Linked DNA regions of Homo sapiens: regions 1 and 3 are each linked to region 2. Evidence: promoter capture Hi-C in human tissues and cell types (Jung and others, 2019). All regions are on one chromosome and are shown on one strand. Each heading gives the region's core, a stretch centred on a gene start or on the middle of the fragment in contact. The rest is flanking DNA. Distances are from core to core; before and after follow the strand shown. Region 1 overlaps ZFC3H1 (zinc finger C3H1-type containing). Region 2 holds the start of LGR5 (leucine rich repeat containing G protein-coupled receptor 5). Region 3 overlaps ZFC3H1 (zinc finger C3H1-type containing).

The links. Contacts are between HindIII fragments. The study calls those that stand out against the background at their distance.
Region 1: a fragment that was not itself captured here is called in contact with the fragment with the promoter of LGR5 in region 2 in 4 of the 25 tissues and cell types used here (aorta, hippocampus, small bowel and 1 more).
Region 3: a fragment that was not itself captured here is called in contact with the fragment with the promoter of LGR5 in region 2 in 1 of the 25 tissues and cell types used here (mesendoderm cells).

What each region holds. Positions count from the first base shown.
Region 1 is chr12:71,631,194-71,634,476 of GRCh38, reverse strand. It overlaps ZFC3H1 (zinc finger C3H1-type containing), which reads left to right. Exons shown (of 35, transcript NM_144982.5): 12 at 173-322; 13 at 1,039-1,213; 14 at 1,460-1,591; 15 at 1,963-2,505; 16 at 2,590-2,699. Among named protein-coding and RNA genes, the nearest start is that of ZFC3H1, 31 kb to the left of the region's middle. The HindIII fragment of the contact is 3,116 bases long and covers 429-3,283 here.
Region 2 is chr12:71,438,204-71,441,782 of GRCh38, reverse strand. LGR5 (leucine rich repeat containing G protein-coupled receptor 5) reads right to left here and starts at 1,985. Exons shown (of 18, transcript NM_003667.4): 1 at 1,491-1,985. The coding sequence starts at 1,702. It overlaps LOC124902962 (a long non-coding RNA gene), which reads left to right. Exons shown (of 3, transcript XR_007063364.1): 2 at 196-315. The HindIII fragment of the contact is 8,401 bases long and covers 1-3,579 here.
Region 3 is chr12:71,651,044-71,654,207 of GRCh38, reverse strand. All of the region lies in intron 2 of ZFC3H1 (zinc finger C3H1-type containing), which reads left to right. Among named protein-coding and RNA genes, the nearest start is that of ZFC3H1, 11 kb to the left of the region's middle. The HindIII fragment of the contact is 6,167 bases long and covers 1-3,164 here.

The DNA of each region.
Region 1 (3,283 bases), core at 737-3,236, 190 kb before region 2:
AGAAGGACTCCACTATCAACTTTGAATGCTGACTTGGGTCTTGCATATTGGTCATCATCTTTATTATTAGTCGGTGTGATTAATATTGTTACTGCATGAAATAGAATACATTTTAAAAATAGTTTAAGTTTATTCTTGGGTGTAATGCATATATCCTTTTTGATAATTTTAGCCGTGAGAAACAGCGTTTGATTAAATCAGATCAGCTGAAGACAAGTTCATCATCCCCAGCAAACTCTGATGTGGAAATTGATGGTATTGGCAGGATAGCAATGGTTACTAAGCAGGTTACAGATGCAGAATCAAAACTGAAAAAACATAGGTGAGCCTTGTTATCTTCACATATCTAATTGTTCCTGTGGTAGAGAAATACATTTTTGTGGTGTATGTTATTAATAAGCGTACTATAAGATTATACATTTTCTCACTTAAACTTTGTAGAATGTAGAAGTCTGTCATTTTGTTGAATGACACTACATTTACATAAAGTAATGAAATTAATGTTTAAATAAAAATACCGGCCAGGCGCGGTGGCTCACGCCTATAATCATAGCAATTTGAGAGGCCGAGGTGGGTGGATCACTTGAGATCAGGAGTTTGAGACTAGCCTGGCCAACACGGTGAAACCCTGTCTCTACTAAAAATACAAAAAAATTAGCTGGGCATGGTGGTGCATGCCTTGTAATCCCAGCTACTTGGGAGGCTGAGGCGGGAGAATCGCTTGAACTAGGGAAATGCATTCCCACTGTGCCTGGCCCAACGTTGAATATTTACTACAAGTTTTCAACAGTAATTCACGTTACCTCAGGCTTAAATTTTTTTTTTTAAAAGATCAGTCTCATAGTTACTATTATCAGTGTAGCAATGTTAATTTAAATACCTGTGTGATGAATATAAAAATATTCATCCCTTTACATTTTTATCTGTGTCTCGTAGATGCATTTTTAAAAATTGTGTTATTACTTTGAAAATTTTTTTATTCTGACAGTCTGCTCTTGTAGGGAAACATTAACAAGAATTTTGTTATTTCTCATTTAGGATTCTCTTGATGAAAGATGAATCTGTTTTAAAGAATTTAGTGCAACAAGAAGCTAAGAAGAAAGAATCTGTTAGAAATGCTGAAGCAAAGATTACAAAACTTACAGAACAGCTTCAAGCAACTGAAAAAATTCTTAATGTTAACAGAATGTTTTTGAAGAAGCTTCAGGAACAAGTAATTATTTTAAAATACTGTAGTCTCCTGTTTACTACACATTTTTATAGGCCAAATTTTCTGTAAGACAAACCACTGTATACTAAAGCCAGCAAAATATGCATAACCTATAGTTTCTTGTTGAGAAATAATATTGGAATATTTTTATTTTCAGTTGAATGCTCAAAAGCCACGGTGTTTGAGAAGAAGAAATTTCCTGTTTTAAGGTTTTCATTTACATTTTCAGGATTATTCTATATTTTTCAGATTCACAGAGTTCAACAGCGTGTTACAATTAAGAAAGCTTTGACTCTAAAATATGGAGAAGAGCTTGCTCGGGCAAAGGCAGTGGCCAGTAAAGAAATAGGAAAACGTAAACTGGAACAAGATCGCTTTGGGGTGAGGGTTTTATAGAAATATTTTACTTTTGGAAAGCAGAAAGTTTTTATGATAGTTTTAAGGGTAAGATGTATATATAAAGTAACTCTTTGCTGTAAATTCCAAGAGATTAAGATTAAAGCTTTGTTTTTAAATGACATCCACATTTTTGGATGTCTACTTTATTATTTTGTCTTGACTTTGTTTTTGTCATAAGTCATAGATTAACTAGCAAAACTTTTGGCTACTTATGTTAAACTCTGTTTTATTCTCCATATTGATTTAGTTTTATAATGTTGGCATTGTATGGTGGGGATAGCACAATTATCTTACCAAAAATTGTTTATAAAATCACAGTGATGTAAAATACGTGTATCATTTTTCTCCCTTAGCCAAACAAAATGATGAGACTGGACAGTTCTCCAGTATCAAGTCCAAGAAAGCATTCAGCAGAACTAATTGCTATGGAGAAAAGACGGTTACAAAAGCTAGAATATGAATATGCCCTGAAAATTCAAAAATTAAAAGAAGCCCGTGCCCTTAAAGCAAAGGAACAACAAAATATCTCTCCAGTTGTGGAAGAGGAACCCGAATTTTCTTTACCTCAACCCTCACTTCATGATCTGACACAAGATAAATTAACCCTGGACACTGAAGAAAATGATGTTGATGATGAAATTTTGTCTGGTTCAAGCAGAGAGCGAAGAAGATCTTTTTTAGAATCCAATTATTTTACTAAACCTAACCTTAAGCACACTGATACTGCTAACAAAGAATGCATAAACAAACTTAATAAAAATACTGTAGAAAAACCAGAACTTTTTCTAGGGTTAAAAATTGGTGAATTGCAAAAATTGTATTCAAAAGCTGACAGCCTAAAACAGCTGATTTTAAAAACCACCACAGGCATTACAGAGAAGGTTTTGCATGGTCAGGTAACTGAACATTTCATATTTTCTTTAAAATCTGGAATTCACCCAGCCTTATTTGCCTTACAGAATTATTATTTTCTTTTGCAGGAGATTTCTGTAGATGTGGATTTTGTCACAGCACAAAGTAAAACAATGGAAGTGAAGCCATGTCCTTTTAGACCCTACCATAGTCCTCTTCTAGTTTTTAAGTCCTACAGGTATAAAAGAAAGATTCAATAAGCTTGAATTTCAGGATTTCTGTTTGGTTTTTAATATTTTATCTTGAATATTTGATGATAATGAAAAAGCAATTGAATCATTGCTATTGATAACCAGACTTACCCTTTTAAGGAACATAAAAATTAAGTGTCCTGCCGTTGGGCTCAAACCACACTCTTGGATTTATCAGTTCGTATCAAATTCCAGTTTCTGGCTATTGGTAGAAGTGTGGAGAATTTTGGATTTCTGTTTGTTAGGAATTTTAGGAAAAATAATTGGAATCTTAGAGGTTTTTTTTAATTTTTGATTTTTAATTTTACTGTTATTCAGTCTAAGAAGTGCATTGGCCAGCCTTCATAAAATTTATTTAGACATTTTCATATGATTAACTTTGTGGGTCCCCCATTTAGACTTTTAAAAGTTGTGAGAATGTTAAAGGGTTGCATGTTTTTATCTTAAAATTGTAAAGCACCTTCCAGGTAATATAGACTTTTTCCAGATTTTCTTGTCTTGGCTGGTAATGTGTGTAAGAAATACCGGTATTATATAGTATTTTATTATGTGGTGAGAAACTACTTTTAGA
Region 2 (3,579 bases), core at 736-3,235:
GAAGGGAAACCTGGTGGGGAAACAGTTTTAACATTCTTTCAGGTAAAAAAGAAAAAGCAGTCAAAATAGCTTTATGGTAGAGGAGGAGGCGACCTGCCATCTACCAATCCTAAAATCTAGCAGAATGGTACCTTTCTTTAAAGACAATATTAAAGCAAGTAAAAGATGTTTTTTTCTTCCTCACTCTGTCTCCAGAAAAAGAATCACTACCTAGTGGAAAATGTTGTGCAAGCCTCTTCATGTTTCTTCCCTCCAGAAAACAACTAAACAGATGGAAGAACTGGTTCACAAACATCCCAACTCTCTCCTGCCAAGGTACATCAGAGAAGCCGAAAACTGGGACTGCATGGGCTTGGGGTGGGCTCGCTGCAATGTCTTGATCTAAAACCTAAATGTTTCACCTTGTGGTAAGGAGCACCTGTTTCCCAGAGTGGCCTAGAACCTGGCCTCTCTGCTGGAAGGAATGAAGCCCCAGATGCTTTGCACGGGGGTGGAGAGAGTAGTCGCCTTGGTCTCCGAGAATAGGGTTCCTCCTGGGTCACCGCGTTCACCCAACTACCTGTTACCTTCGGGCCTGGGTTTTCCACAGAAAAAATTACGCAATGAGCCGCCGCCTCAGGGCTTTGGAAGTTGCAGTGGGGAGAGAAGGGGTGGGAGAATCCCCCAGGGATGATAGAGAGCTTCAGGTCTCCCTTTGGGTGTCGGTGCCGCTGTTTACCAGCCCAACAGCCTTCAGCCCACTTCCCCTTTCCTCCCCGGGGGAAGAGATGGTTAAAGATTACACAGCGGCCGCGGGCACTTCAAAGGGCGGCGCGGGCAGCCAAAGGTAAAGATAACGTTCTGGCAGCTCTAATCGGGGTTTGTGGTTGCCACATTTTAATCACGCCGTTAAAAAAGAAAGAAAATAAAAAGAAAGGAGGGAGGGAAGGAAGGAAGAAGGGAGGAAGGAAGGGAGGAAAAGAGGAAAAAACCCCAAAAAGGTTACATCACGTCACAGTGCAAGGGATGCAGACTAAAAACCCTTTGGAGCTGGGCAAGTTGTTTCTCCTTTGGGGAAACTTTCTACAGACCATCTTTTCGTGGAATGCGACTAGACGCAGAGAGGCGGTTGGGGCGGGGACCAGATGGCAGCCTGCCTTTGGGTACCAGGCTCTGGGTCACAAATGTCCACTCCGCACGCAAATGCCTGCATTTGCAGGAATTCGCCCTGCGATGTTTCTAGCGCTGGACTGGGAAGCTGCGGCGCAGCAGCGCTTTCCCGGGTTGCACTCGAAGCCATTTCTCTGCGGGTCCAGAAAGTGCCGGCACGCTACTCCCCGAGACACGTGCATTTCTCTGGGGGCCCTAACAGGCCTGGCCAGGATGCCCTTGACAAACTCGCCCCCCTCCCCCACGAGCAGGCGGGCGCCGAGGAGCCTCCAGCCTCGCCTTGGACGAACCTTCCTTCCCCTCTTAGTCTCTCTCCCGGAGTGACGTGGGGAAGTACTTACAGGTAGGAGGTGAAGACGCTGAGGTTGGAAGGCAGCTCCGAGAGCCCCAGGTCGGAGCAGTCCACCCTGAGCAACATCCTGCCGTCGGGCTCGCAATGACAGTGTGTGGGGCAGCCCCTCAGCAACACACCAGACCTGGGAGAGCTGCCCCCGGTCGCCAGCTGCAGCAGCACAGGCAAGGACAGGAGCACACCGAGCCGGGAGGTGTCCATGGTGCCCGAAGTAGGGGGCCACGAGCCGGACGCGGGCGGAGAGCAGCACCGGACTGCTACGGGCCGTGGCGCGCCGGGCGCCGCTCCGTGGGCTTCTGCAACTCAGCGGGCGTCTGCAGCGCCAGACGCCGCGTTCCTGACCCCACGGCGTGGGCGGCGAGGAGAAGCGCGGCGGGGACAGAGGTGCCGGTTGCCGCCACGCCGGCCTTCGGAGCAGCCCTGGCTGCAGCGGCGACAGTGGCGGTGCGCCTTGCTGCTGCTCGCGGCCTGAGCGGTGTGGAGCAGCATCTCTGCTTGCACGCTCGTTTTTTAAAGCGCTCCAGCCCGAATTGCGCGCCCAGTGACGTCAGCGCAGCCTGGCTTCCCAGGCACCCCCCGCCCGGCCCCACTTTCCCTCCACTTGTCCCCTCCCTCCTTTCCCAAGTCCTGGGCTGGGAGGCAGCAGGCAGCAGGCAGCGCGCGGTACTGGCGAGTTCTCGGCGCTCCCACTGAGCCTCCGCCTGGAAGATTCAGTGCTCAACGCCGCGCGCCGGAATAGGGGACCCCCCCACCCTTACCCCTTCATGCGTGCTGGAGACCCAGATCTAAGAGTCGAGAGGGACCTGCTTCGGAGAGACCTAAACAGACGCACAAGGACTGGAGGATGCGGCACGTTTCCTCCGAGCCCGCTTCAAATAATGGATGAGATACTTGAAGTGATTAAACAGAATAAAACAAAACAAAAACACAAAAACTAAAATCCTATGCAGAGAAATAGTTACGTTATCAGGGTAAGGAGGCAGGCGTCCCCGGCGAATGATAGGTGGCCTTTTTGATCCTTACGTCTGCCGCACTGTCTGGCTCGCTTTTGCCCTAAAATCAAAGCTCTAGGCTAATCGCTAAACAAATACAGCTCCTGAGCGAGCACTCCACTGCTGCCTTCCTATCTCTTGCGGGGTGAGGAAGTCGAAGTGACTCATTTGTTTTTTAAAAGTGGTTTAGAATACCCTAGAAGTCACTTTTAGTAAATCGATGCCAGAGTGACAGATGGCTGTTTGCTAACTTCCAGGGACTTTTCATCTTAAGTGTCCCAGCGCTCTCTGAACTGAGAGCAGTCCCACCTATGTGAGTGACACTGGGCTCTGAGAACCGCTGCAGAGCGCCAGGGGGAAAATGCATGCTCTTGCTTCAAAAAGTGTCCTATAGTGAATCTGCAGGAAAAAGGAGGAAAAGGATTCAGGGCTTTCTTGGAGAGAAGCCCTCGTTGAGGTACAAATAGCCCTCGCCAGACCTGAGTGAGCTGCTGAAAGAGGTGGTATTCCAAGCCTGCCACACCAACTCACAAAAATGCAGTTTTCACTCTGGGGCACAATGCCTCACAGCATCATGAAGGCAGGATACCCTGTTGATTTTCCAAGTCCTTTTTAATCTTCCTGCATTTAGACTGCCCAACAAAATTTCCCAAATAAACGTCTAAATTTTAGAGTTGGGAAGAGCTGTTTCTCTGTGCAGTGTATGTGCCTTCCTTCATGTCCAAACCTCGCTGTTTGTTCACCTAAAATATATAATTTCTTGACCACAATCTGTAGTCTGAACATCTTCCTTTCTTGGGTGAAAAAACAAACAACAAACAAAGCACTTGACAGTGCTAGTGCCACTGAAAATTGTGAGTTAACTCCGGTTTCCGCACAATCAGTACAGAGAGCCCGCGTCTCTGGACACCCTTTTCCTTCACTTTTCCCTATGTATACCACATTCACTGCTACTCTGTGCTTATTCTCACATTATTCTTGCTTCCCTTAGCCATTCTTTCCACATTTAAAGAATGCCTACCTTGTGTCTTTCTTCCTTTTTTTAAACATTTTAAAAAAAATTTCAATGGCTTTTGGGGGTACAAG
Region 3 (3,164 bases), core at 146-2,645, 210 kb before region 2:
TTAGCCTCCTAAAATGCTGGGATTACAGGTGTGAGCCACCATGCTCTGTGCTTAAATACATTCTTTAGACTTTTTTTTTAAAAATGTGTTTTTGCTGGGTGGAAAACGATTTCCGTTTACTCTTTTTAAAAGATATTTTCCCTGGGTTTAGAATTCTAGGTTGTTTAATTATATGCTTTTTGTTTGTTTGTTTTTGAGACAAAGTCTTTCCCTGTCATCCAGGCTGGAGTGCAGTGGCACTATCTTGGCTCATTGCAACCTCCGCCTCCTGGGTTCAAGTGATTCTCATGCCTCAGCTTCCTGAGTAGCTGGGACTATGGTACATGCCATTGCGCCCGGCTAATTTTTGTATTTAGTGGAGCTGGGGTTTCGCCATGTTGGCCAGTCTGGTCTCAAACTCCTGGCCTGAAGTGATCCGCCTGCCTTGGCCTCCCAAAGTGCTGGGATTACAGGCATGAGCCACCACACCCAGCCCCTAATTATATTCTTACTGACAATATTTTCTGGCTTCCATTGTTGATTTTCAAAACTCATCTATCAGTCTTAATGGTTTCCAATTTGAAGATAATCTTTTTTCTTTGGTTGTTTTAAAGATCCTTTTTGTCTTTGATATTCTGTAGTTGAACTGTGTGATGTGCTGATTGTAGATTTCTTTTTATGTATCCAGCTTGGAATTTGTTGTTTCTTGAATCTGGATTGGATCTTGCAGTGGTTCTGAAAAAATGATCATTATCTCTTAGAATATTATCCCATTCTCTCTCTTTTTTGGAACTCTGTATAGATGTATGTTATGTTAAGTCATCATACTTTATCTTTCATGTCTCTTCATTTCTCTAAGTTTCTGTCACTTTGTAATTGACAAATTCTGGAAAATTTCCTCTGATACATCTTTCGTTTTACTGATTCTCTCTTCTGCTGTATTCGATTTGCCTTAAGCCCACTTACTGAGTTTTACATTTCAATTACAGTTTTTGTTTTACTATTTCATTTTTGTTTTGTTTTCAAATCACTTTGATCATTCTTTCCACTTTTCTTCTCCCTGCTTATATTTTCAGCTTTATCTTTGTTTCTTTAAACAAATTAACCATAGGTCTGTTTTGTTTTATCTCCTATCCCTGCTAATTTTCAGTATCTCAGGTCTTTGGGGGTTTGATTTCTGATGTTTGTTTTGTTATTACTCATTTTTGGTACTTTCTTTTCTTGAACATTTAGTGATTTTGTTTTGTTGTAATATGAGATGGTCGTTGTTTTTTTTTGAATTTTAGTGGTGGGAAGTTTTTGAGACCTGGGACAAAGATGCATTCCCCAGAGAGAATTTGCTAAAGACTTCAGCCTTGGAATCAGTTCAACCCTCACTGGCTGTCCATATGGTGTGAATTTGGTTGCAGACCTAAGTGATGATTATTTTGGGTTGCACATTCTCAGGGAGATGCCTTTCTTTCCCCTCTTCAATTTAGTACTATGATTCTACACAAGCAGTTTTGAGAAGTATAACACAGAGGGATAGAAAAGACACAAATCTCTATCATGGAGTATAATATGAGTTATGTGTGAAAGCCTGGAGTAACACGGGAAGGATTAAATATCCTCACCTGGATTTAGAAAGGTTTCATAGAGATGTAAATGTTTGATATACATCTGGAAAGATGAATCTTTTCCACTGGGGAAGTCAGAAGGAATCAAATGAGTAGACAGGCACAGAGGGCTTTTTAAGGGCATTGAGATTAATCAAATATGTGTGCAGTGTGAGAGATAACGGTATTTTTTTGGTGAGTGGTTGGACATAAAATTATAAAAGGACAGGTTAGTGTTGGATTGGGAAGGCCTTTAATATTTTGCTAAAGAATTTGAATTTTGTCTTTTAAACGTTGGGTGGGCTATTAAATATTTTTAAGCAAGAAAATGATGTGATCAGATGTGTGTTTTGGAAAAATAACTGGCATCAGTATGGAAGAGTGATTGGAGGAAAATCAAAGGAACTAAAATGTCATCTGAATCAGTAAATTATATATATAAATGTTTCTACATGTATATTTCCCCACCAATCCTCAGCAAGACTCTACTGTCAAACTTATGTTATTGGTGAGCCTTTTTTCCATATCTCTTGACAACTCTTCTATACCTTCATAATTTTTGCAGGCCTTTTACTCAACCTTTATTATTGTCCGTATACAAGCTTGCTTCTTATTGGAGGTGATCACACTCAATTCCAGCTTTTCACTTTCTGACCATAAACTTGTTTGTAATCCATATCAGTTTTCACTTCAGTTCTTTCACCCTGAGGGTAACGACTGTCTTGTTCATGGCCATTTTGTTTTAACTTGTTCTCCTGGCTCTAACTTCTGCCTTCTCTGGGACCTTGCTTTATTTATTCTGCTTTATCTTGAACCATTGTCTCCTTAGGGTGTTCTTAATATATTTGACTTTTCCATCCAAAAATGGAAATCCTCTTCCACCTCATCCTACATTCTCTCTTAAATTATGTCAAGTATTCTTCCTCTTTTCAATAAGACTTCTGAGAGGTCTAGTCGGTACCAGCTTTTGACTTTACTTCTCATTGCCTTATTAGCCCAATACAGTTTGCTTTTCTACCCCCATCACAATACTGAAACTACTCATGGTAGTTTTCTGTGACCTAATTGCAAATTTTAGTGGATGTTTTTTATTTCATTCTTCCATTTATTCAAAAATTAGTTGAGCACTTTATTCCAGGCTCTTGGAAATAAATTGGTGAACAAAATAGTCACTTATGTTTTCATGGGCTTACATTTTAGAAGGCAAAACAGTAAACATGATGTGTAAATTAACTGTTATGAAAGAGAAAAAGTATAGCAGGGTAGGTAGGAAAGGGTTATTGAGGATACAGGTTGCAGCACTAATAGGGTGGTCAGCATGGTGTCTATTTGAAGGTGAGATTTAAAGAAAGACTTTGAAGACAGTAAAGGAATAGCCAAATGGATATCTGGTGGAAGAGGCTCCTATGCAAAAGGAATAACTAGAGCAGTGATTTTCAAAGTGTGGTTCCTGGGGACTGCGTTATCTGGGAACTTGACAGAACACAAATTCTCAGTCTCTACCTTAGATCTATTGAACTGGGAGCTCTGCAAATGGGGCCTAGCAATCTGTATTTAACCAGCCCTTCTGTTGATTCTGCTACATGCTGA